2 separate regions of the Homo sapiens genome follow, and region 1 is linked to region 2. The links are contacts of gene promoters, found by promoter capture Hi-C in human tissues and cell types (Jung and others, 2019). All regions are on one chromosome and are shown on one strand. The core of a region is centred on a gene start or on the middle of the fragment in contact, and the rest is flanking DNA. Distances in the headings are between cores, read along the strand shown.

The links. Contacts are between HindIII fragments. The study calls those that stand out against the background at their distance.
Region 1: a fragment that was not itself captured here is called in contact with the fragment with the promoter of HIVEP2 in region 2 in 1 of the 25 tissues and cell types used here (spleen).

What each region holds. Positions count from the first base shown.
Region 1 is chr6:144,112,502-144,115,201 of GRCh38, reverse strand. It overlaps LOC105378036 (a long non-coding RNA gene), which reads right to left. Exons shown (of 4, transcript XR_943089.3): 3 at 2,272-2,349. Among named protein-coding and RNA genes, the nearest start is that of SF3B5, 18 kb to the right of the region's middle. The HindIII fragment of the contact is 3,737 bases long and covers 1-2,700 here.
Region 2 is chr6:142,943,882-142,946,659 of GRCh38, reverse strand. HIVEP2 (HIVEP zinc finger 2) reads left to right here and starts at 1,484. Exons shown (of 10, transcript NM_006734.4): 1 at 1,484-1,561. HIVEP2-DT (HIVEP2 divergent transcript) reads right to left here and starts at 171. Exons shown (of 3, transcript XR_001744397.3): 1 at 1-171. RefSeq lists silencers at 1-204, 255-884, 1,115-1,344, 1,545-1,644, 1,785-1,854. The HindIII fragment of the contact is 8,201 bases long and covers 1-2,778 here.

The DNA of each region.
Region 1 (2,700 bases), core at 62-2,561, 1.2 Mb before region 2:
TAAAATTTCAGCCAGTCAGGAAGAACAAGTTCAAGATATCTATTGTACAATAAGATAACTATAGTTAATAACAATGTATGATATATTTGAAAATTGCTAACAGAGTAAATGTTAAGTGTTCTCACTGCAAATAAATGGTATGTGAGGCAATGCATTTATTAATTAGCTTGATTTAGCCATTTTACAACCCATTCATATTTCAAAACATCATATTGTACACCATAAATATATGTAATTTTAATTTGCCAATTTAAAAATAAAAAAGAAGAAAGCTCATTTTGATCACCCCCAAAGGATGCCTTATGCCCCAGTAAGTCCCCAGCCACAGAGGCAATCATTTTTCTGATTTATTTTACCAATAATTAGTTTTGCCTAATCTAAAAATTCATATAAATTGAATAGCTCATTTTAAAAAATAGAATAAAATGTTCTAAGGGATAAGATAGATGTGCAGCCATCAAGGATATTGCTCAATATATATAAAATCAAAAGAAAAACCAAGAGTAGATGAGCGGAAGACTGTGGTCAGCTACTCCAATAGAAAGTCAGGATTCCTTGCCCAGTTTACAAACCTCAGGTAGTTTTCAAACCCACTACAGAACATTCCCCTTGACTGAAAGAGAGGCCAGGTCCACATGAAGAAGGACACTGCAACACCAGGACAAATGTATACAGTAGCGATTCCTCTAGCTATTCCCCAAAAGGTCTTTGGCTATACACTAGGGTATCATGCTCTGGAAATGGGAATACATAGCTTTTATGAGGACTGTTAGATATACGGTCTGAATTGATGCAGATACCTAGAGAACAAAAGCATCTTCATGGACTTCTTGGTAGAGCAGAAGTATATGAGGTTCAAGTAATTAATGGAGTCCTAGCTGGACACATGTGTCCTCTGGTCTACAGATTCACACAGAGATCATTTTCCCAGTTTCTGAATGTATAATTGGAACAGACATATTAGGATTTTACAGAACCTTCATATTATTTCATTGACTTATAGAGTAAGAGCTATTGTAGTAGGAATGGCAAGTAGAAGCCCCTAAAACTACATTCTCACCCCATTGCCAAGACTATAAATCAAAAGCAACGTTGCATCCCAGGAGTGACATGGCAGAGTTTAGCATCACCCTGAGAAATTTAAAGGATATAGGGGTGCTGGATTTCATTATAAACCCATATAATTCACCATTCGGCCCCCTAGAAAATCAGGTGAATCAGAGCATATGACCTTGAACTACTACAAACTTCTCCAAGTAGTAACTTCAATAACATCTTCTGTATTCGATGTGACATCTTTACTATAGCAGATTAACACTACTGCTTGTGTGGTTAGTGGCTATTGATCTGCTTCCATTTTGCTCTCTATCATTCAGAAGGACAAGAAACACACACGGGATGGCTAACAGTTACACACTCACGGTCTTGTCCAAGCACTATGTCAATTCTCTAGATCTCTGCCGTGATAGTGCAAAGGGTTCTGGGCCATCTGAACAGTCCACAGAACTTCACTTGGGGTCACTAAGTGGGTGACATCATGTTATTTGGACCTTAGGAGCAAGAAATGGCGATTATTCTGGACGTCTTATTAAGACACGTAATCTAAACGGAGGAAGAAAAACACTACAAAGATTCAGCAGCCATACACTTCAATAAAGTTTTTAGGCATCCACATGCTGGAATATGCTGAGACATCCCTTCCAAGGTAAACGACAAGTTTCTATACATCACACCTTCCTTTACAGGCCATTTTGGAGGCAAAATATATAAAACACTTGGGAATACTCTTCAACAAACTGTTGGAATAATCTGGAAACTGTTAATTTTGACTTGGGCCAAGAACGAAAAAGACTCTGAAGCAGGTTCCTGCTGTGTTCCAAGCAACCCTGAAGCTTGGGTCCAACAATATAAACTCTGTCTCACCATGGCTGATCTACCTACTGTTGCTGCTAGATGTCTAAACTTTCAGCAACAAAGATCACTCCCGAGTACTTGATATGGTACCATTCCTTCTTTTTCCCCTCACCCTTATAGAGGTATACCTGACACATAAAAATTTTATGTATCTAAGGTGTCCATGTGGAGATCTGATGTACATACACACTGTGTAATGATGATCACAATCAAGCTAATTAATACACCTATCATCTCTACCTTTTCATGGTAGAAAAACGCTTAAGTAGATCTTAGCAATCTTGAAAGCAAATTTCAAGTATAAAATACAGTATCAATTATAGTCACCATGCTGTATATCAGATCCCTAGAACTTACTTTTCTTATTGGTATTCTTCCTTCAGATGACCAACTAGTCATTCGGCGGCCTATTGTTTATATCAGTTCCATTCAACTCTGGAAAAAAAAATTTATCTTGAATGGGATTGACACATATTCCAGATATGTTTTTACTTTTCCTGCCTGTAGTGCCTCAGCTATCTCCACTGTGTGCAAGCTCATAAAGTGTATGACCTACTGACCTGGGATGGCGCCTAACATTGTCTTTGAACCACGAGACTGTCTTCATAGCAACTGAGGTATGGCATTGGGCATGTGGTTGTGGATCATGCACCATCTAGAAACTGCCATCATGAAAGAGTAGTGAAATTGCCTCTTGAAGTTACAGCTAAAGTGCTGGCTGGGAGATGACACCCTGCAAAAGATAGGGCACTATCCTCAGGTTACAGAACAGACCTTCAAGCATCT
Region 2 (2,778 bases), core at 235-2,734:
AAGTAGAGACCAGCTCTCCGGGGAGTTCCCCGCTCCGACCGAGCGAGTGCGCGGCCGCGATCTCCCCGCCCGCAGCGGCAGCCGTGGGGCCCGGCCCTGCCCTCCCGACCGCCTCCCTCCCCCGTCGCCCCGCGCGCCGCACATCCCTCTCTCGCTCACTGGCTCCAGACTGGTTTTTCTGGTTCAGCCTCCCTCCCTGGGACGCGCTGGGGGATCCGATGACGTCGTTGGCTGAGTCTCTCCCTCTTCCTCCCTCCCTCCCTCCGCCTCTCCCCCCGTCCGCCCTCGCCGCGCACTCCTCCTAGTAACTTCTGTTCGGGGAGGCGCTGCCAGGAATAACCCGGTGCGTCCACAGCCCGGGAGGGGAGGCGGCCGCTGCGGCTCCCGCACGCAGACAGCTGCGGCCCGGGCCTCGCGGCTCCCGCCTGAGCCCGGCGGCCCCTGCCCCGGGCCCATCTCCGTACAGTGTCAGAAAAATAAATAAAGGCAAGAGGAGCCTGGGCTGGCGGTCGGGATCTTTTCCCTCCCTCCGCGCCCGCCCTCCCTCTGTCCTTAAGGAAATGCTACCAGACACCCCCCACCAGACACGCTCAGCCTTGGCGAGGAGCGGCCGCCGCGGCAGCGAGAACAAGGGCACCAGGGGGGTTTCCTCCCCCTCCTCCTCTCCCTCCTCCTCCCCGTCCTCCTTCTCCTCCTCCTCAGCGGTGACTTTCCAGGTGAGCGGCCGCCGCGGCTGCGAGGATCCCCCTCGCCCGCTGGGGCTCGGGCCGCCGCGTCGCGCCCTCCTCCCGCCCCTGTCACCCGGCGGCGGCCGGGAGCTGACAGCCGCCCGAGGGGCTCGCGGCCCGGAGGCGGGCGGCCGGCGGGAGGCGGGCTGGAGGTGAGGGGGTGGAGAGGAGGAGAGCGGGGCGCCGCCGAGCGCCGTCGTTCCCCGCAGGAGGGTCTCCGCACAAACATCTTCGGTGACTGTGGCACAAGTCTTTGCCAAGTTGTGTCTTGGACCTTGACGCTCCACGGAGCCCAGAGCAACTTGGAGGGTCTCCCGGCTCGTTCACAGCGTTCCTCCACGTCTCGCGTCTGGGGTGCTGGGTGCAGCCTCGGGGTGCGCGGAGGGCGGACCGGCCACCGCGAGAGCGGAGCGGCGGGAATCTAGGTCCCTCCTCGGCTCGGTAAGTGGCCTGGACGCTGGGTTTTTCCTGCCTCCTTCGGCGCTGGGAGCTTGTTTCACTTTATATTGGAATCGCCGCCGCCGAACTCCGTCCCCCGCTCCCCGGCGTGTGCCCCCAGCCCCTTCCCGGTGGCCCGAGGGTGAGGGTCGGAGGGGGCGGGGATGGGGGAGACCGCGGGAGGGGTGTCGGGCGCGTGGGGAAATGCGGGGAATACCCTGGCCGCGGATCTATGCAGATGAGGGGAGGCTGCTTTGCGTAATGTCCTGGGGGGAGGGGGCCGCGCGGGAGCGCTGGAGGCAGGAATGTGCCTGCTTACTAATGAGCGACGTGCACCGGCGCGCACGGCCCGGCCACCGCTGCGGCTGCGGCGGCCGGCGGCGGCCCGTTGTCAGGTAGCGGGGGAGGGGGCCGCGGCGCGCGGCGCAGGCGGCCGGGCGGGCTGGCGGCGCGAGGCCCGGGCCGCCGGCCTGCGGCCGAGCGAGCGCAGCGAAGGCGCTGGCTCTGGGCATTTCAGTGACTCCCTTTACCTCCCGGGCAAGGAAGGAAGGAAGGAAGGAGCGAAGGAAGGAAGCGAGGAAGGAGGGGACTGTCTCGATGGAAGGTTCAGGCGGAGGCGCCCTCGCCTTGCGGGTGCACCGGCTGCAGAGCGGCTCTGGCCGCTGCCGGCTGGACCCGGGCGCGTGGAGACGGGTGGGGGCGGTTTGCATGCGTGTTTGTCTGTCCGTCTGGCGGGGGATCGGGAAGGGACATGTGTGTTTGGGCTGTGCACTGTGGGGAACTGGGTCTGCGCCTTTATGTCTGTTCCCTGAAGTGGGTGGAACGTTGGCCCGTTCCGGGAATGTTCCATGACGTGGTGCAGCCACAGGAAGGGGGTTAACGAGGGGCTCTCTGCCGCGGCGGCACTGCCGGCTGCTATCAAAGCAGATGTGCTGCTGCTGCTCCTCCTCCTCTTTCACCTCCTTTCACCCCCACCCCCCGCCTTTCCATTCTGTGCCTCTGGTACTGGTAGGGGTGAGACAGGAAAACATTGCTCTGGGTGTGTGCGTGTGTGTGTGTGTGTGTGGGTGTGTGGGGGAGGGGGTGCTGATGTGCATGTGTGGGGTCTGTCGTATTTGGTGGGGGGGGGGGGTGGACTCCAGATCCGCTCTGCTACCCCAGCTGTTATCACAGATCGGTGCGCTTTATACGCATGTGCCTCCCGCGTTCTGTCCCTCTTACATAACACATCCAGTGCAGCAGAGGACATGAGAAAATGCGACCCCAACCCTCCAAGCCCAAATTGGGTGAGGGGATAGAAGGTCAGGAAGCGTCCCTGGGTGTTGTCCTTCAGGGACTTGGTTCCCAGTGGGGGAAAGGAAGAAGGGAAGGAGGGTTTCTTCAAGTGGCTCCTCTCATCTCTGACTTAAAAGCATCTAACTAAAAAGGACTGCAGGCACTAGTCTTCCCTAACGGGAAAGCTTGTAACTAGCTACACCAAGGGAACGGGGGCACTTTAACCTCGGGAGTGCGGAGAAGAGAGAGGGTCCTTAATCAAGACACTTGGAGGAGAGAAGCAATAATGTGTGGGCGGCGGATGGGGGGCGCTGGGGATGACTTCGAGGAGACCAGA